7 separate regions of the Homo sapiens genome follow, and regions 1, 2, 3, 4, 6 and 7 are each linked to region 5. Evidence: promoter capture Hi-C in 16 types of primary human blood cells and fetal thymus (Javierre and others, 2016). All regions are on one chromosome and are shown on one strand. Each heading gives the region's core, a stretch centred on a gene start or on the middle of the fragment in contact. The rest is flanking DNA. Distances are from core to core; before and after follow the strand shown. Region 1 holds the start of SLAIN1 (SLAIN motif family member 1). Region 2 overlaps MYCBP2 (MYC binding protein 2). Region 3 has its middle 6.3 kb from the start of CLN5. Region 4 overlaps MYCBP2 (MYC binding protein 2). Region 5 holds the start of DIS3 (DIS3 exosome endoribonuclease and 3''-5'' exoribonuclease). Region 6 overlaps FBXL3 (F-box and leucine rich repeat protein 3). Region 7 overlaps CLN5 (CLN5 lysosomal BMP synthase).

Region 1 (2,700 bases), core at 190-2,689, 4.9 Mb after region 5:
GGCTAGCAAGCTGGGACACAGGGAAGGTTAAGGGAGTCATCACACGCATTTAGCTAATTTATGGAAGCGCTCACCAAGCATGTTAAATGCAGAACATCCACCCTGCACACAGAAGCTAGAGATGTAGATTAACAACTGAGAAGATACAAGTGTTTCTGAGCAGGAAGACACAAAACCATATCTGAAACCAATAGATACGATGTGTTAGCAGCTCCAGAGAAATGAGGTACATTGTCACAAAGATTGGTATGTAAAGTCCCTAGCAAGGACTTTCACTAGATAGTATATCATCTGAGGATGAGAACCAGTGGTGTAGATTTTTCTCATAATATAATCTCAGGTTTTCCTCTGATTGTGTTAAACACTCAAAATGCTAAGTCAGTCAGTATTCATTGAACACAACTCGATTAAATTCTTCTGCTTAAAAGCCTCTTTTAAAAAAAGCAGATTTGCTCGTTTTCCAAGTGGTAAGAAATAGCAGGTTTGCAGGTGAGATTAAAGTGTATTGGGTAGAATTCTGAGGTTTTCTGTTTTCTGCTTTCCCACCAGCAAGTCTGACTTTAATAACTTACACATTATTTAATAGAAGGAGCACTAAACAATTTTACTCATATTTCTCCCCATAACCATTTTTGCCTATTGTACTCATTGCCCGCATCACGAGCTCTTAGAATGGTTCCTGGCACAGAGTAGGTGCTCAAAGATCTTTTGTTTGGGGAATGCATGAATATACATAGTATGAAAAAAAAAGCAGTTCTTCTTTTATTGTGACAAACAATGATGGTAACAGTTCAAATTTGACTATTTTAGAATAAATAAGTAAACACTTGTCTCCTTAGCAGCTGGCCACTCTACCTCTTAGAGAGAGGGCTTTCTTCTCTTTCTTCTCGGTCTCCTGTCTCCCACCATTTTGCTTCTCTATTACCAATGAGAACATGAGTGGCATGGTCCCAAAGCCTTTCTGTTCCCCCTATCTCCACTTTTCGGTTTTTAGAATAACGATCCCCAGCCTTTAAGTTTTCTATAGGATTCGTTAGCCAGTGGCTATTAAGTGCTGTCACGGAGCCTAACAGAGAGCTGGGAAGGGAGCAAACCAGCGGGCCGGTGGTGCACTACTCGAGGGCCAGCACCTGCAGCTGCTTCTTTGGGAACCCCCTGGTCCCCGCAACCGCCTCAGAGACCCGCGCAGTTCACTGTCCCACCAAGCGGCAGGAGGAGGTGCTTGTGGCGGGAAAGTTCAGGCCAGGTCCAATCAGGCCCCTGGGATTAGGTAGCGAGGGTGGGTGCGGCTCCCCGGCCCCAACCCGGGCTGCCGGCCCCGCCCCCTGGGTGGGCTTCCCCACGGTTCTCCGCCCCCCCCCCCCCACCCGCCCCCTCGGCGCTCTTGCCCCGCCCCGCTCCGGGGCCGCGGCTAAAACCCGGAGCCGCCGCGACGCCCAGGGGACTGGAGGGACGCACTGAGCATGTGCAGATCAGCTCGGTGGTGGCTGCCGCGGCCGGAGGCGAGGGCCCGGTGCTGATGCGAACCGCCGGCTCGGCCTCAGCCCGCGCGTGGTCGGCCCCCCAGGCCGGGGCGACAGGGAAGGAGCCGTAGCCTCCCCGTGGCCCGAGGAGCCGGCGCGGCGGCGCGCACTCCCCGGCGGCCGCGGCGCCCTCGGGGCCCACGATGATGGCGGAGCAGGTGAAATGCGCCTCGGCAGGGGTCAGCTCTGGAGCGGGCTCCGGGCCGGTGGTGAACGCGGAGCTGGAGGTGAAGAAGCTGCAGGAGCTGGTGCGCAAGCTGGAGAAGCAGAACGAGCAGCTGCGGAGTCGAGCGGCCAGCGCGGCCGCCGCCCCGCACCTGCTGCTGCTGCCGCCGCCGCCGCCCGCCGCGCCGCCCCCCGCTGGCCTGCAGCCTTTGGGTCCTCGGAGCCCCCCGGCCGCCACGGCCACCGCCGCGGCCTCAGGGGGCCTGGGGCTCGGGCTGGCGCTGGGCGCGGGGGGCGGTGGCGGCAGCGGTAGTGGCAGCGGCGGTGGCTCCAGCCCCGCGTTCCCGGGCACCTTCTGCCTGCCTAGCCCCGCGCCCTCCCTGCTTTGCAGCCTGGCGCAGCCACCCGAGGCGCCCTTCGTCTACTTCAAGCCGGCAGCAGGCTTCTTCGGCGCGGGCGGTGGCGGGCCGGAGCCGGGGGGCGCGGGGACGCCGCCAGGGGCAGCTGCAGCGCCGCCCTCGCCGCCCCCCACGCTGCTGGACGAGGTGGAATTGCTGGATCTGGAGAGCGTAGCCGCCTGGCGGGACGAGGACGACTACACCTGGTACTGCCTGGCTCCGCTCCTTCCCCGAGACCCTGGCCTCGGGGGCTTCGGGCACCGGGGAGCGGGGGCGGGGGGCGGACGGGGGTCCCCTCGCGGCAGCCGGGGTGACTCCCCGCGGCTCCCGGAGGGGCCGACCCAGCAGGTGTTGAGCCAGGCGGTGACACTTCCCACGATGAGGCTTCTCATGAAGGCAGAAACCTGTTTTCTAATCGCTCCGACTGCGGATGAACCGGCCCCCCCTTCCCCCCATCTGCCATGGGTTCTGCTATTTGCTGATTGTTGGGTCCCAAGCTCCTCGTTAGCATTAAGTGCAAAATCCATGTCATCTTGTCTTTTTGCTCAGTGCTGCTCTTTTCCCCAGTGTTTTCGGAGGGATGACGGGGGATGGTAGGGGTTGGCCTCTGTCTG
Region 2 (2,700 bases), core at 128-2,627, 4.4 Mb after region 5:
CCTCCCAAAGTGCTGGGATTACAGGCATGAGCCACCATGTCCGGCCATAACCATGTTTTCATAATGATAACTCTGCTGCCAGTGTGAAGAATAACTAAACAACTAGATGGAGAATGGGGGAAAGGCAGCAGTGAGATTATCGGGATATTAACCCTATATTAAAAAATGAAATGTACTTGCACCATGGCAGTCTAAATGACAGCAGGAGAAGAAGTGAAAGAGAGGAGAATACAAACTAGAGAGATTCCAATGGAAAAACTCATAGAGCTGAATTTAGACAAGTGCCTCTGAGGAGATGGTTAGGGTACCCCAGAGTTTTGGGTGGATAGCGATACATTACTGGAAAAAGAACAGAGAGGAAGAAAAAGCTTTTTGATTACTAAAAGAAGAATAAAGACCCAGTTTAACTCAAATACAATTTTTCTTTTACTAAATTAACTAAGAAAATAAGAATATATGGTAACTCCTTTTGAGCATTCTAAATAATTCTGCATTACAGTATGGAGAGTGTGACCTATCCAAAATTAATCCATGGGTGGATCTATAAATAACACTTAGATTCTATAAAATTGTATAATAGAAGGCTCCTCTTCAATAATTCTATGCAAAAATTTAGTGAATAAAGAATCTAAAATATGACTACTGAGAAAGAAAAAATATTACCATCCACAGCAAGAGCTCTGTGCAGGAGGTCCTTAGAGGCTCGAACGACAGTGCTTACAACAGACAATGCTCTGCTACAGTTTTTATCTTCTTCATTGGCTTTACTCAGAAGTTGGGATTGTAAATCTCCATCAAATTCACTCCTGTAGCATGAGCAAACATGAGATTATTTTACAATGGTAAGTAAAACATGATCCAGTGCCAGAAATCATATCTAGATCTGAGATCCTCATTTAATTTATAGCTTTTTAAAAGTTAAAAAAGTAAACATGCAACTATACAATAATAGGGAATGATAAGGGCTTTGAAGAAAAACAAAGCAGCATAGGGCATAAAGTGAAGGGTGTTATTTTAAATAAGATCAGTTCTCCGAGGAACTCATATTTAACAAAGACCTGAATTAATTAATTAAATTATTTACTTATTTGAGACAGAGTCTTGCTCTGTCGCCCAGGCTGGAGTGCAGTGGCATGATCTCGGCTCACTGCAACCTCCGCCTCCCAGGTTCAAGCGATTCTCCTCCCTCGGCCTCCCAAATAGCTGGGATTATAGGCATGCACCACCACGCCCAGCTAATTTTTCTGTTTTTAGTAGAGATGGGGTTTCACCACGTTGGCCAGGCTGGTCTCAAACTCCTGACCTCGTGATCCACCCATCTTGGACTCCCAAAGTGCTGGGATTATAGGAGTGAGCCGCGCACCCAGCTGACCTGAATTTTTTTTTTTTTTTAAAGACCCACGCGAAGAGCTGAGGGAAAACTGTCAGGGCAAAAGGAACATACTGGTGAATTAAAGGAACAGAATGAAGACATGTATGGCTGGAAGAAAAGGAGAAAGAGTGAAGCGTGATGGGTGGGAAGGGAAACAAGAGTCAAATTGTGTAAGGTTTGTAGGCCACATAATGACTTTACATTTTATACTGGTATGAGAATGGGAAGCTGGGTTTGGAGCAAGGGTGGAACTTGGTATGATTTATATTTTTATCAGATCACTCTGGCTGTGCTGTAGAGAACTGATTGTAGGAGACCAATAGTGAAAGGAGGGAGACTAGTTTAGAGGCTTATTACAGTTAGCAGGTAGAGGTTGCAGTGGCTTGGTCTAGACTATTAAATATGGAAGTAGAAGAAAAGGTCACATTTAGGACATTTTAGAAGTACAGCTGACAGGACTTCTTGATGAACTAGGTGTAAAGTATGAGGGAAAGAGAAGTCCAGAATGACTCCAAGGTGTCTGGCTGTAACTGTGGAAGGGAGATGAATATTCTAGCCACATGAAACCTCAGATGTCTACTAGCCAACTATAACGAACATCCTTAAAGAGAAAGTGCAGCATTCTGGTTAAGGGTGTATCACCTGAAATCTGACTTCCTGCCTACAAGTCGCAGTAGCGTAACTTAACAGAGGTGTGACTCTAGACAATTCAGCGTCTCAGTTCCATCATCTGTGAAACAGGGATAAGGAAAGTACCTACCTCCTGGGGTTACTGTGAGGACAAGGTGAAATAACACAGGTAACATACTCAAAGCATGTCCTGGCACACAGTAACTAACACCATCTCCACTAGTGTCATCCAAATGAAGATGTCAGAAGAGAGACCCGGAGTCCAGGGCTCAGAGGTCATGAAGGCTAGGGATGTAAACTTGGGAGCTATCAGAGCAGGATGGTATTTAAAACTAAAGGACTTTAACATTTTTCATTTATAAAAAATGTAAAGCTAAGGGTATTTAAAGCTTAATAGAAAACATGAAAATACTCAAAACACTGTATTTTGTATAAGATATAAAGTTTGGATGGCAGATGCTCTTAGTGGCTCTCCAGCTTTCTGAAACACGTAACTCTTACGCATAACAGAGTTTTTAATCCATAGTTTAAGAAAGAGAATAATGTACTATTTATTGTAGTGCTTATGTAACAGAAAGCTTTTCTTGACTGGGGCAAAAGACTAGACAGCTTTTGTATTTCAGCAGCAACAATGAACTACATAGCTATTTGCTGCCTGCTATTTCTATTCTATTTCTGATGGAAAGAGGAAGCAGAAA
Region 3 (2,700 bases), core at 136-2,635, 4.2 Mb after region 5:
CTATGGCTGCAGTGACTGTGATTGCACTACTGCACTCCAGCCTGGGTGGCAAAGTGAGACCCTGTCTCAAAAAGAAAAAAAGGAGTAGGAAATTAGTGTGTCTAGGGCCGGAGCTCTTAGGCAAACTGGTGAAGCCCCTTCTCAGAATAATGCTTTTAACGCCTAAAATAAAAAATGAGATTGTAAATGAGAAACTAAAAATTAGCTTGGACTTTAATCTGCCCTCGTATTCATTAGCCTGGACTGATAAAACCAGCCTCAAAATTACCAGAAAACAGTACTTCTCTCAAACCACAGTAAATCATAAAGTGTCATAACAACCTCCTTTCTTTTCTACTTAATTTTTTTTTTTTTGCCAAGTCCTTTATGGAAGTTGTTGTGCGTGTCTCTGTTGTCTTTGTGGAAGGCCAGAGCCACACGGTCCTAAGAGCTGGGAACCAGGAAGCATAGGCTGATCTGAAGAAGACACTTCAATCATGGGTGATATTAAAAATTTTCTGTATGCCTGGTGAGGCAAAAGGAAGATGACTCCATCCTATGAAATTAGAGCATTGGGGAACAAAAGTAGGCAGAAATTCTTGTGTGAGGTTCAGGTGGAAGGGTATAATTACAGTGGCATAGGAAATTCCACCAATAAAAAAGATGCACAGAGCAATGCTGCCAGAGACTTTGTTAACTATTTGGTTCAAATAAATGAAGAGTGAAGAAGTTCCAGCTTTTTGGGGTTGCATCTCTGCCCCCACTTACTGATATTCCTGACACTACAGCAAATGCTGAAGGAGGTTTACCAACAACCATGGGAGGTCCTCTTCCGCCACATCTGGCTCTCAAAGCTGAAAATAATTCTGAGGTAGGGGCCTCTGGCTATGGTGTTCCTGGGACCAAGGAGCCAACTTGAAGGATTACTACTCAAGAAAGGAAGAACAAGAAGTGCAAGCGACTCTAGAGTCAGAAGAAGTGGATTTAAATGCTGGGCTTCATGGAAACTGGACCTTGGAAAATGCTAAAACTCATCTAAACCAATATTTTCAGAAAGAAAAAATCCAAGGAGAATATAAGTACACCCAAGTGGGTCCTGATCACAACAGGAGCTTTACTGCAGAAATAACCATTTACATCAAGCAGCTGGGCAGAAGGATTTCTGCACATGAACATGGATCAAATAAGAAATTGGCAGCACAGTCCTGTGCCCTGTCACTAGTCAGACAACTCTACCATCTTGGAGTGGTTGAAGCTTACTTCAGACTTACAAAGAAGGAAGGAGAGAGAGTGGAACCTTACAAAGTAAACCTCTCTCAAGATTTAGAGCATCAGCCACAAAACATCATTTGAGAGCTAAATTTTGAGATTATGCCCCCGCCTGAAGATCCTTCTATGCCAGTTGCACTCAACATTGGCAAATTGGCTCACTTTGAACCATCTCAGTGACAAAACCAAGTGGGTATAGTTCCTCGGTCACCTCCACAATCCAGATGGAATCCTTGGACTACTAGCGACATTGCTGAGGGACCTCTGGCTTTTGCTTCTCCAGAGCAAATAAGCTTGGACCTCAAGAATGAATTGGTGTACCAGTTGGAACAGGATCATGATTTGCCAGCAATCTTGCAGGAGCGAGAGTTACTGCCTGTGAAGAAATTTGAAAGTGAGATTCTGGAAGCAATCAGTCAAAATTCAGTTGTCATTATTAGAGGGGCTGCTGGATGTGGTAAAACCACGCAGGTTCCCCAGTTCATTCTAGATGACTTTATCCAGAATGACTGACAGCAGAGTGTAACATTGTAGTAACTCAGCCCAGAAGAATCAGTGTAGTTTCCATGGCAGAGTGAGTTGCATTTGAGAGAGGAGAAGAGTCTGTAAAAAGCTGTGGTTACAGTGTTCAATTTGAGTCTGTACTTCCTTGTCCTCATGCCAGTATAATGCTTTGTACTGTAGGTGTGCTCCTAAGAAAATTAGAAGCAGGCATTTGAGGAATCAGTCATGTAATTGTAGATGAAATACATGGAAGAGACATTAATACTGACTTCCTTTTGGTAGTACTGCGTGAAGTTGTTTCAGCTTACCCTGAAGTTCTCATTGTTCTTATGTCCACTTCTATTGATACCAGCATGTTGTGTGAATATTTCTTCAATTGCCCCATCATTTAAGTGTATGGGAGGACTTACCCAGTTCAAGAATATTTTCTGGAAGACTGCATTCAGATGACCCACTTTGTTCCTTCACCGAAAACCAAGAAGAAGGACAAGGATGATGATGGTGGTGAGGATGATGATGCAAATTGCAACTTGATCTGTGGTGATGAATATGGTCCAGAAACAAGGATGAGCATGTCTCAATTGAATGAAAAAGAAACTCCTTTTGAACTCGTCGAAGCTCTCTTTAAGTACATTGAAACCCTTAATATTCCCAGAGCTGTGTTGGTATTTTTGCCTGGCTGGAATTTGATTTATACTATGCAGAAGCATTTGGAAATGAATCCACATTTTGGAAGCCATCAGTATCAGATTCTACCTCTGCATTCTCAGATTCCTTGACAGGAACAGCGCAAAGTGTTTGATCCAGTACCAGTTGGAGTAACCAAGGTTATTTTGTCCACAAATATTGCTGAAACAAGCATTATCATAAATGATGTTTATGTCGTTGACTCCTGCAAGCAGAAAGTGAAACTCTTTGCTACTCACAACAATATGACCAACTATGCTA
Region 4 (2,700 bases), core at 101-2,600, 4.4 Mb after region 5:
CAAAGGGGTTACCAAGCACAGAAAAGTGAGATCACTAAAGAAAGCATAACAGAGTCAAAGATCCTTATTTGAATCAAAAGATACCAAACTCAACTTAAGACTAATAGGATGCAAAGTTACCAAGAAGCCAAAGTTCTCATAGTCTTTTATTCAAAGCACAAGCTCTACAAACTGCCATGGCTCTTTTGGAAGGTCAACTTTGAGAGGATATACCAAACTTTAAATGGGCATATTTCCAGTAGAAGTATGCACATAAGTACACAAGTATTTAAAGATGTATGTGTATAGATGCTCATGAAGCAAGATGAAATAACAAAAAATGAGAATCAAAGTGGTTCTTTGATAGATATCAGATTGAATAAATTAGAATAATGGTACGCAAACGGAGAAGACTGACAGAGCCAAATGTACTGCCAGGGAAGGATGTCCATGATATATAATACGAAATTTTCTAAAAAAGATGAAAACTGTAAGTATCGTAAGAAACAAGCAAGCATGTTGTAGAGCATCCTGTATTTGATACGTACTAATAAGTTTTTTTGCATATAAAAATGGTCTGGGAAGGCCGGGTGCGGTGGCTCACACCTGTAATCCCAGCACTTTGGGAGGCCGAGGCGGGTGGGTCATGAGGTCAGGGGTTCGAGACCAGCCTGTTCGAGGTCAGGGGTTCGAGACCACCACCAACATGGTGAAACCCCCTCTCTACTAAAAATACAAAAATTAGCTGGGCGTGGTGGCAGGCGCCTGTAATCCCAGCTACTCAGGAGGCTGAGGCAGGAGAATTGCTTGAACTCAGGACGCGGAGGTTGCAGTGAGCCAAGATCGTGCCACTGCACTCCAGCCTGGGCGACAGAGCGAGACTCTGCCTCACCAAAAAAAAAAAAAAAAAAAGGTCTGGGAAGATACACACCAAAATGTAAATAGTAGGTATATATGGTGATCATGAGAATGGGAGAAAAATCTTTCATATACTTTTAGGATACTTTTATCTCATTCCTACCAGGAATATATATTCACTTGGTGGGTTGAAAAATAAATTTAAAAGGGAAAGAAACATTCTTCCTATGCATTTTACTAATATGAAAGACTACTAGCTATATTAATAAATCACATTCAGATGGTGCCTTACAGTTCCAAAAACATCTTACACCCCTTATCTCATTAGAAATTCAAAATGCTATGATGTAATTTACTTAGGTAACATACGTAAGAATCCTCAATTAATACATGAGAGATCAAGACCTTAATTTATACTTTCATTTATTTACATCATGTTGACTTTCCATTCTGCACTGTTAACCTCAATGGCACTGTGCTTCTTCATGTGTACAATGGGGATGGCAAGTGGTTCAACAAACTTCCTAGTTAGATATGCAACTCTTCCACCTAGTTCCTCAAGTAGTAATCACGCTTTTTTGGGCCAGCACCATCCTTAACTTTTCCTTCATTTTCTAATTCATTCAGCATATGCATTCATATATGATTTACTAGAAAAGCAAATCGTTATTTGTTTCAAAAACAGCAAGGCCAATTCATCTGGTCATGTTAAAATCATAGGCCAACACCTCCATTTTTCTATGATTTAAAGTATACTTTATCTGTGGTCTAGAATATAAATGTGAATACAAAACCAAATCTGAGTTTATAAATCTAGGCTAAGATAAACTTACAAGAGCAGCTAAACTCTAAACATCAAAATGTATCTGAGGACTGAAGAGAAAAGCTGAAATTTTTTAAAACATGGCTTACCACTGAGACAGTTCTTGCAAAAGACCTCTTTAAAATGTGTACAGGTTCACTGGTTTGCTGTTTGCCTTTTGAAGCACTGCCATCACTGGTTGGAAGTCTAAAGGCAGTAGACACATATAAAATTATGTTAGAAAGTCCAATGTCATTTTTTCTTTTTAAAGTATATTATACATTTTTGAATGGGAAAATAAATTATATATTTAAATTTTTTTGCCAGGTAATGCCAATACAGGGCTTTTTTGAAACATTTTTCCAAGCTAAACAAAGTTTTTAGCATATGGGCACTTCCTTTAAATCCTACCTTCGCAAGACCGAGTAGTAGAGGCTTTTTCCTCTTCTTAGAGAACATATATAATGTATATAACATATAACTTATATTCTCTAGTAATGCTACTATTAATGCTGTTATTTAAAAGTTATTCAACCAGTGAGTACCTGGGAGTAGTCCAATGCAACACGTTATGTTTGTAGAGCTACATATTACAAACAGTAACTATAACAGATTGCACGGTGCATAAAAACCAAACAAACGAAAAAACCTTTTGGGGAAAAATAATGTTTGTAACCACAAAGTGATTACCAGAAAGAAAGATAGGGAGATAGAATCACAGTTCTAGACCATTTCCTTTGATTTTTTACTGCTTAACGAATGACAACATTTTTCAGTAACGGTTTATATCCATTTGAATTCTTTATTCTAAAAGTATTGCAGTAGTCTAGAAATAAATAAGGTAAACACAGGCATATGCCTTTATACATGCTTAAATTATTGTAAGTTAAAATTTTTCAATAATGTTAAAAATATAGTAAATATTATATGAGCAAGTTATTATTTGGTATTTTAGCTAAAGGTGAAAATTTACCAACAGTAGGGAATTTTCCAACTCATTTTATCAGTCTTATGAGACTACAATATATCAACCAGGCCTGCATCTATAGTCCTCCCCATCT
Region 5 (2,700 bases), core at 99-2,598:
TCTATGGTCCAACTCATGCTAAAACCAATTCAAAATGAAAACATTTTGGAAATTAAAGTACCTATTGTAGTCTAGGAGTCAGCAGACCTTGGTTTTAGGCTTGAGCCCATCAATGCCTGTGTGACCTTAGAGAGATCCACTTAGCATTATCTTCTGCACAGCCATGTAAGAATTAAATAAGGTATGAAATCTATCACTTATCTTCTGACAATGTCATAAATTACTCACAGGAACCCTCTCCCGAATTTTGCTAATCCTGTGGTTTTCTGATATTTAACGTAATATTCCTCCTACCTATGGTGCTCATTAGTGAAAGTATAGAAATGCTTCTCTTGGTTATTAGTCACATCTCGGATGCGTTTATATACGGGGGCACTGCGATTTCTCACTTCTTGAAGAACTGTTTGTAGCACAATTACATTCCTGATGGCAGGGTCCTCAAGAACATCAATCTTAAAGAAAGATAAAGTTAATTTTTCCTATATTCATTTGTAAATAGCTCTGTCAAACATAAAATCCTGTTTTATGTTGGGCATAAATACTTTATGTTTTAAAAACACTGAATAAGTTAAGCCAAGAAGCTATTTGGCTATAGAAAACGAGACAATAGTCACTAAACCCTTCAGATCTATTAAAAAAAGCACACTTAAACAGACCAATCACAAGACTTCGTAGAATTAAGGGTATTAATAAAGGAATACGTTGGCCCACATAGTTTTTTGTTCCTAGGCACTTACAAGCTGCCTGGGAGTCGCAGGCTGGAGGCCACAGAAGCCCAGGTCCCCGGCCTCCAGGCACTTACAATCTAAGGCAGAAGAGACACCAGGAGTTAGAAAAATAACGTGTCTGAACTACGACTCCAAGAACTAAATTTTTTAAAGCACAAGGAAAAGAACCTCGGCCTGGGGAACAGGAAGCTTCGGTCCCGAGGGGGTTTCCCTTTCGCTAGGTATGTGACACTGCCAAAGACCCGCCTCCCTGGGCCTCAGTTTCCCTGTCATACCCCCTTGTCCCCGTGGGGCCGCGCTGTCCGCGGTTCGCCCGCCCACGCACCTGGTGCAGTAACACATTAGTGTCGGGCAGCAAGTAGTGCGGTTGCGGGCAGACGCTGCTCGCCGGGTCCTGGGGCTGCGGCTCCAGGGCCGGCCCCTCGTGCGCCCCTCCACACGCTGCGCACCCGGGCGCACCGCAGCCGATGTCGTCTCGCAGGTAGTGCTCGCGCACGATCTTCATCACGCCGCCCGCCCGGGTCTTTTTTAAGAACGTCTTGGACTTGAGCATCTTGCCTCGCCGCGCAGAATCCTAACCCCAGCAGCGCTCTTCCAGCAAAAGGCGTCAATCTAGAATACGCCTAACCCCGGAGGTTCTTCCCTTTCCATTCCCGGATATTAGTAACACTTCTCGCGGGAAAATGCCGAGATAAACATTGGTTGGCTCTCTGACGGCCGCGGGGATTGGGCGAGAGTGGGGAGGGGCGGCAAAGCAAGGCGAGGAGCCATTTCCGCCCGTGGCCTAGGCGGGGCTTCCTTCTGGACGCCACCTCACAACGTGTGTTGCTTTCCGCTCCTCGGAACATCCGGGAGAGTTGACTTCCGGCGGCTTGTGGGAGTGCTGGTTCTGTCCTCCTTGCGGGTGCGGAGATGGTTGTCTTGGTTACGGGTCCTAACGGTCCCCTGCCTTGAAATCCCTTGTTGAGGGCCTGCAACCTTGTGCTTCCGACCGGAGACGCCTTTGGTCCCTCGGTGTCTGCACTGGCTGCTGGTCAAGGCTTCAGTGTGGAGTAATTGACACTTTCGAGGTAACTTGCGACTATCATCGCTTTCTTTCCCGCGTGGGGCAAGGAATCCCCCGAGCTGCCAAGTTTGGGGCTTAATTTTCACGCCGAGTGTATAGGCAGTCCCCGTCTCGGGCCCTTTGTAATCGAGGAGAGAATTTGTCTTTGAATTCACTTTTTCTTACCTATTTCCCTTCAAAAAGAAGGAGGGAGGCCGATCTTAGTATAGTTCTCGCTGTTTCCCCTCCACACACCTTTCCTTATCATTCAGTTTAGAAAAACTGAAATATTTAATAGCATAATTTGTTATATCATGAGGTATTAAAACAAGGTAGTTGCTAACATTCTTATGAGAGAGTTAGAAGTAAGTTCTATTTAGAATTTCTTGAATTTTTCTTATATCCTGTTGTTTTCATTCTGCTATCTATAAAAAATGTTTTTGTCCCCGTTTTCCCTATTTAAAACATCTTCAATGATGCCTCATTGCCTGTAGAATAAAATCCAACCCTATTTTGACATTTAAGGCCTTCCAGTCTTGATCGTTAAGGGCGTGTGTGTGTGTGTGTGTGTGTGTGTGTGTGTTTGTGTTTGTGTTGGGGGGGCGGTGAAAGGAGTAACTATTCCAAGACTTGGCTTTGTTTTTTTACTTCCACTTACGTATCATTAATAACTGCATGATTTCTCCTTTTTACCATGCCTGTCCAAATCTTTAAAGATTCTAAGTGCTACCTCTGTGTAACGTTTCCCTGACCAACTCAGACGTGATTTCTGTTATCTTTGAGCATGTGTTGGTTTTAGTGGTGCCATTCTTGATTATAATGGGCTTTTTTCTTCATCTTGTACATTTCTTTGTTTCCTCCAAGTAAGATTCCTCCCCGCAGGAACTGTTTTTTTAAGTTTCTCGAAGGCTGACTTCATATTAGGAA
Region 6 (2,700 bases), core at 69-2,568, 4.2 Mb after region 5:
AATGCCTGATGATCTGAGGTGGAACAGTTTCTTCCTGAAATCACCCCCTGCCACGGACAGGCACTGGGCTATGCTATGTGTTACTGCCAGACATTTCTTAACTCCGCCTAAAATAAGCAAAACCACCCCTACTATGAATTGTTTGGTCTGGAATGTAGCTGCTTCTTCAAACACATCACTTAATATTGCACTGTTTTCCCCAAGTTGTGTTTCTGAATTATACCTATTTGTTTATTCTATGTATTCTTAGCACTTTCATTCCATTAGTTTCTTTGAAAGATAGTTTTTTCATGGCAAAACAGTATTATGGCTAAAGAGAATGGGCTCTGGAACCAAGCTCCTTGGGTTTGAATTCTGGCTCTACCTCTCACTGGCTATGTGGCTTTGAGCAAATTACTTGATATTCCTGTGCTTAAATTTCCAAAATTAGTTTAATAAAACAGGGTTTCTGTGAGAAATGCAATACTATTAAGGCTTTTCAAAGGGGAGATACGACTGTTGAACTGTTGAGATATGACTGTTGTGTAGGAAAGCAGTCCAGCATTAACGACATTAAAGTACACAACATGCTAAAAACCAGGGTTACTACCCAGAAGGCAGAGAATGATTCATTCATTCATTCCGTTCACTCATTCATTCATTCCGTTCACTCATTCATTCAAGATGGGGTCTCGCTCTGTCACCCAGGCTGGAGTGCAGTGGCACGATCATGGCTCACTGCAGCCTCGACCTCCTGAGATCAAGCAATCCTTCCACCTCAGCCTCCAGAGTATCTGCATGCACCACCACACCCGACTCTATTTTTGCTTTAAAATGGAGAGAGAGAGAGTGTGTGTGTGTGTGTGTGTGTGTGTGTCAGAGAGACAGGGCAAGTGAGCTTGTGTACGAGAAAACACACCCTGGAAGTAGACTCACTGAATTATTATAGTAACCAACAGTAGACGGCAGATTACAGGTAATTTTTTTTTCTTGCAAACATCTCTTCCCTTTTTATGTTTTACACATTTTCTTTTACTATCAATGCATTACCGTGTAATCGGACTTTTTGGAAAAGTATAGCAGGCTCTAAACTAAATGGCTGCAGACCACTCACTGGTAGTTACTTAGTTCAGAGCCTGTAATACTTTTGTTTCTAGAGAACAGTTCTGGCAGGGTAGTGGTTTCGACCTAAACTTGGGGTCACAATCTTTCAGAAAGATGGCTTGTTGCTCCAACACTCCTCTGGCCTATCAGCATAAAAGAATTTCTCATTCCTGTGTGAGATGAAGGATATGCATATGCATTACTGTAAAACAAATGTTTCTGCAGACTTTCTCCACCCAGTACCTCGCAAAACTTGTGAAAGAGGATTGAGGGCTGGAGAGTAAAAAGAGAATGGCAGAGGCCTCTGACCTTAATGCCATGAAAGTCAGTCAAAGACGTCTTAGCATATGTGCAATAAACTGCCTATTCTTCACTGCTCCTATTCCCAACTATGTGAATAAAATATATTACGTATACCCTACTGATCAGGGAGAGAACAAGAGAGAAAATAGAATGACAGAGGTGACAGCAAGAAGGTAGTCTGATGGAAGACTGGAAATTATGTGTGACTTGAGATTAGTTTTTTTTTAATAAGTTTAGAGAAAAGTGTATAGTCTACACTGTAATCTTTAATATTAAGTCTCTTCTAATAATAATCCCTCACTAGAGGCTGAGATAACACTGTTATTATGACCCATTTTTCTGCTTTAACTTACCCTGAAGGCTTACTTTAATTTTAGTATATAAAATTTGGGTCAAAGAACAAAGTGTTTGCTATCCAGAGCTTATAATTTCTCTTCTGACCACCTAAAACTACTCACAATTTTGAGATACAGAGATTCAAAAAAGAATGACAGTCTTTGCAATTTCTACACCTTATTATAGAATACTGATTGCCTGTTTCTGGAGAACAATCTTCTAAAACCAGAACTAGACAACTTAAAGACGGAATGATTCATTTTACTTTAGAGTATATGGATATATAAACAAAAATAAAATGGTAGCCTTATTCACATAATAGTCTTTGCTAATAAATACTTTGCTGGTCCTAAAAATAGAAACTTTCTTTTGTCTATTATAGTACTGTTTTAAATAAAATGTACTTAAATACCTTTCCAAGTTCAGGTTAAAGAAGTTGACAAAATTTTTTTTAACAGTATGCAACACTAAGGGACAGTATCTCTTGATCTAGATATAAAAACACTATATGATCACCAAAGCCTATTTTAAGAACTTACCAGTTTACAAATAGCTGAATTAAGTCTGTTAATTGTCATACGTAATATGTCTATGTTACAATTATAGTGCATTAAGCAATTGAAAAAAATGTAAGGCCAAATTCCAATAAAAATATCCTCTGCACTATCCTCATTTGTGCATGAAAATAACAGAAGTGAGTGGACACTTAAAATTTTAAATGTCAATTTTTCCAAGTTGATTTCATTTATGTATGAAAAAATTTACACTACTTTAATAGTATCTTATTAAATCTATTTACACATGAAACTCTGCTATACATAAAATTAAACATCTCAGAGCATCTTCCAGCCTGCAAATAATTTACATCAATGGACCCTATAATTCCTACTTTTGTCAAAGTGAAAACACCTCCTATATTTGAAAAGAAGTGTGGAGAACCAAGCTGTACTATAAAACGTCAATGAGACATTCTAGACT
Region 7 (2,700 bases), core at 53-2,552, 4.2 Mb after region 5:
GCAAGCAGCTGGAATTTTCCTGCCTGGTAAAATTAAAACCAGCCCCACAAACTGGGGTTGGAGTCTGTGCAAAGCTCATTACTATCTATGTGTGGGGTAGAAATTATAGTGTGTTAAAGGACCTAGTGTAAAAAAAAAAAATTTTAAAGGACCTAGTGGAGGCTTGAACCTTCTTCACATGAACGTCTTCCTTTCAGCCTAAAGTTCTTAAAATGCACTAAATTGACTTAATCTTCAATCATACCTATTTTTTCTGATATGGTTACAACAGCCCAAATTACCAAGATAAGTTGAAAGCCAGTAAAACAATGAAAATAATTTCAATAGTTGAAAAACTATTCTAATTTATATAAAGACATTTATCTCTAAAAAGACTGGTTGGGTTCAAGGACCCTTAAAGACTGATTCTATGTCTAAATAATCTGTTTTATAAGTTCTCATTCTGAATGCAGAAAGAACCTATTATTTTCTGTATAAAAATTTAAAAATTTATATTTCATGGTAGGTTTTAAATTTCCTATTTCTTTAGGCATCAGAGCTTATTTCAAGAATAGATTCCATGAGCCTAACCTTGTATCTTCAAAAAGGCGAGTCTATCATAAACATTGTTTAATATTAAATATTATATCCATCAAATATGGATTTGAAACATTTTTAAGTTTAAAGTCAAATGTTTGTGTAGTTTTTAAAAAGTAAAATACAACAGCATTAGTAACTTTTTATTCTCAAAGTGATAAAAGCATTTAACATATACTTTACAGTATAAACAAATTAAGTACTATGCATTTTGCTTATAAAGTGACAAAGTATTTTAAGCATTATATAATTCAATTTGTACAAAAAGTAAATTTCCAAATACAAGCTTTGGTTAGTAGAACTGATTATGTACTGTCAAATCCATTTTTCCAAAGTTGTTCAAGGAAAAACAACAACTTGACTAGCACAGGTAATTCTTGTACAATCAGAGCTTTTTACTATTTAGAAGGAGGGGATATATTACTATAATTGCTGTTAATTTTCGAATCTAGATAAGCCTTTTTTCTTCTCATATGTTGCTGTAGGAGAGCATATCATCACTTTTGGAAAGCAAAAATTATGTAGAAAATCACCTTTTGCTTTATTCTTAAGAAGGCCATCCGTTTTAAAAGTAGATCTAAGACTGTTAGCTTCCTCAACCACTGAGACACAATCTAAAAGTCACACCACTGAAAAGAGCCGCTTTAAGAATTAATGTATTCCACCGGGGTTAAATCATTTCTGATTTCCCTCAGGAGGGTAGTAATATCTACTAGCACTAGTGCCCAGCATCAAAGTTTATATCATCTTTTAAAACTCAACATTTTATAGACTCTACAATGCATGGATTACTTTTATTCATATGAAAGTAATATAAAATGTTACCTAACTTAAATAATATAAAATATCGGTTTAACCAAATTAACAATCACAAAACTGCAGACATTTTTCTATTAAAGTTTTCCAGTTCACTGAGCAATATTTACTGAAAAATATGATTATGAACTTAAATATGTCCTCTTTAAAATTTGCTGTTTATGCTAGACTGTACAATGGTGCTCCCTTTATGATTTTTAAAAATTTTACTTACATAACTATGTAATTCCAAAATAGAAAAGTGAGTGAGCCATCACTAAAATTTACTGGAAACTAATATTCTTTCATGGAAACAACTGATAAACATTTTAAAGTTCTATATTTATTTAAATTTGGCTTTTTAAAATAGGTAAGCTTTTCATTTCAATTATTGTTTAATACTTTAAAGCTAGTTTAAACAAAGATAAAACCAAGGAGAACTAGTAAAGCATTCCTTACTTTACATACAGTGCCTCAAGTGCCACATACATAATAACATATCACAAAAGAATGTATATGGTTTAGCAGATTACAGAGCAAACCTAAAAGTTTATACAAAGCTAAACACTGCCTCCCTTCTGTTCCATTTATTGTCTTTTAATTTGATCTTGGCTCTGTATTATCCTTCTATAATACCACTGTGTGACATCTATCAGTCTTCTAAGTGTTCTGATTACTTATATATACCTTTTTCTTTAAACAGCTTTGTAACATTTGAGAACATTCATCCAATCTTTTCCATTAGATATGATATATTCATTTTTCTCACAAAATGCTCACTTTCCTGAGCTATATTAAACACCTTATAACAGGTGTATGTGTAACTGAAGACCCTAAAATGTCAAGTTTACATTTTTTTTTAAATGCATAGAGAATATAACATTTCAGAAAACCTATTAGTACTTCTTGGATATTATAACATATAGGTTTTGTTTCCTTTAGACTGTAAACTGTTTAATACGTATAACTGGTTATTTCACATCCGAACCACATTAAAAAAAATTCGGAGATATGACTGCTATTACACTAAGGAAACAAGTGGAATTTTCTGACCAAAACTCATTCATGGGTCTTCCGATAAACAATCTTTACATATACTGACTGAAGATATCAAATTTCTGTGCCACAAAATAGTAGAATTATATCAGAACTACAGCAAATAAAACTTTAATTATAATACATTTGCTTGAAATTAAGGTGCTATTCATCATGCAGTTTTTACCAAGTGGGCATCATGTCGGGAAACCACACCCTACCAAGATGCTTGGACACTTCCCAGTGAATCTGCTCCAAACTATACTTTTGGTCAGGAATTAGTACTTCTTCCAT

Evidence for each region. The method cuts DNA at HindIII sites, captures the fragments that hold promoters and counts their contacts. A CHiCAGO score of 5 or more calls a contact.
Region 1: a contact is called between the fragment with the promoter of SLAIN1 here and the fragment with the promoter of DIS3 in region 5, in 1 of 17 cell types (non-activated CD4 T cells). The highest score is 8.5, in non-activated CD4 T cells.
Region 2: a fragment that was not itself captured here is called in contact with the fragment with the promoter of DIS3 in region 5 in 1 of 17 cell types (naive B cells); the score reaches 5.7 in naive B cells.
Region 3: a fragment that was not itself captured here is called in contact with the fragment with the promoter of DIS3 in region 5 in 1 of 17 cell types (naive B cells); the score reaches 7.1 in naive B cells.
Region 4: a contact is called between a fragment that was not itself captured here and the fragment with the promoter of DIS3 in region 5, in 1 of 17 cell types (total B cells). The highest score is 5.6, in total B cells.
Region 6: a contact is called between a fragment that was not itself captured here and the fragment with the promoter of DIS3 in region 5, in 3 of 17 cell types (naive B cells, total B cells and naive CD8 T cells). The highest score is 5.4, in naive B cells.
Region 7: a contact is called between a fragment that was not itself captured here and the fragment with the promoter of DIS3 in region 5, in 4 of 17 cell types (total B cells, naive B cells, monocytes and 1 more). The highest score is 14.3, in total B cells.

The regions. Positions count from the first base shown.
Region 1 is chr13:77,696,248-77,698,947 of GRCh38, forward strand. It overlaps SLAIN1 (SLAIN motif family member 1), which reads left to right and starts at 1,440. Exons shown (of 7, transcript NM_001242868.2): 1 at 1,440-2,292. The coding sequence starts at 1,667. MIR3665 (microRNA 3665) reads right to left here and starts at 1,869; the gene lies at 1,765-1,869. RefSeq lists silencers at 1,198-1,757, 1,958-2,197, 2,358-2,507. The HindIII fragment of the contact is 5,751 bases long and covers 1-2,700 here.
Region 2 is chr13:77,170,829-77,173,528 of GRCh38, forward strand. MYCBP2 (MYC binding protein 2) reads right to left here. Exons shown (of 83, transcript NM_015057.5): 38 at 664-806. Among named protein-coding and RNA genes, the nearest start is that of MYCBP2-AS2, 91 kb to the left of the region's middle. The HindIII fragment of the contact is 2,023 bases long and covers 367-2,389 here.
Region 3 is chr13:76,984,392-76,987,091 of GRCh38, forward strand. It overlaps the pseudogene DHX9P1. Among named protein-coding and RNA genes, the nearest start is that of CLN5, 6.3 kb to the right of the region's middle. The HindIII fragment of the contact is 307 bases long and covers 1,233-1,539 here.
Region 4 is chr13:77,187,202-77,189,901 of GRCh38, forward strand. It overlaps MYCBP2 (MYC binding protein 2), which reads right to left. Exons shown (of 83, transcript NM_015057.5): 30 at 1,750-1,846. Among named protein-coding and RNA genes, the nearest start is that of MYCBP2-AS2, 110 kb to the left of the region's middle. The HindIII fragment of the contact is 4,220 bases long and covers 1-2,700 here.
Region 5 is chr13:72,780,552-72,783,251 of GRCh38, forward strand. DIS3 (DIS3 exosome endoribonuclease and 3''-5'' exoribonuclease) reads right to left here and starts at 1,349. Exons shown (of 21, transcript NM_014953.5): 1 at 1,054-1,349; 2 at 295-452. The coding sequence starts at 1,281. PIBF1 (progesterone immunomodulatory binding factor 1) reads left to right here and starts at 1,582. Exons shown (of 18, transcript NM_006346.4): 1 at 1,582-1,798. RefSeq lists enhancers at 541-1,455, 1,373-1,482 and a silencer at 1,043-1,092. The HindIII fragment of the contact is 4,441 bases long and covers 916-2,700 here.
Region 6 is chr13:77,022,518-77,025,217 of GRCh38, forward strand. All of the region lies in intron 1 of FBXL3 (F-box and leucine rich repeat protein 3), which reads right to left. Among named protein-coding and RNA genes, the nearest start is that of FBXL3, 3.3 kb to the right of the region's middle. The HindIII fragment of the contact is 2,888 bases long and covers 1-2,700 here.
Region 7 is chr13:77,004,556-77,007,255 of GRCh38, forward strand. It overlaps CLN5 (CLN5 lysosomal BMP synthase), which reads left to right. Exons shown (of 4, transcript NM_006493.4): 4 at 1-562. It overlaps FBXL3 (F-box and leucine rich repeat protein 3), which reads right to left. Exons shown (of 5, transcript NM_012158.4): 5 at 705-2,700. The coding sequence ends at 2,590. Among named protein-coding and RNA genes, the nearest start is that of CLN5, 14 kb to the left of the region's middle. The HindIII fragment of the contact is 884 bases long and covers 861-1,744 here.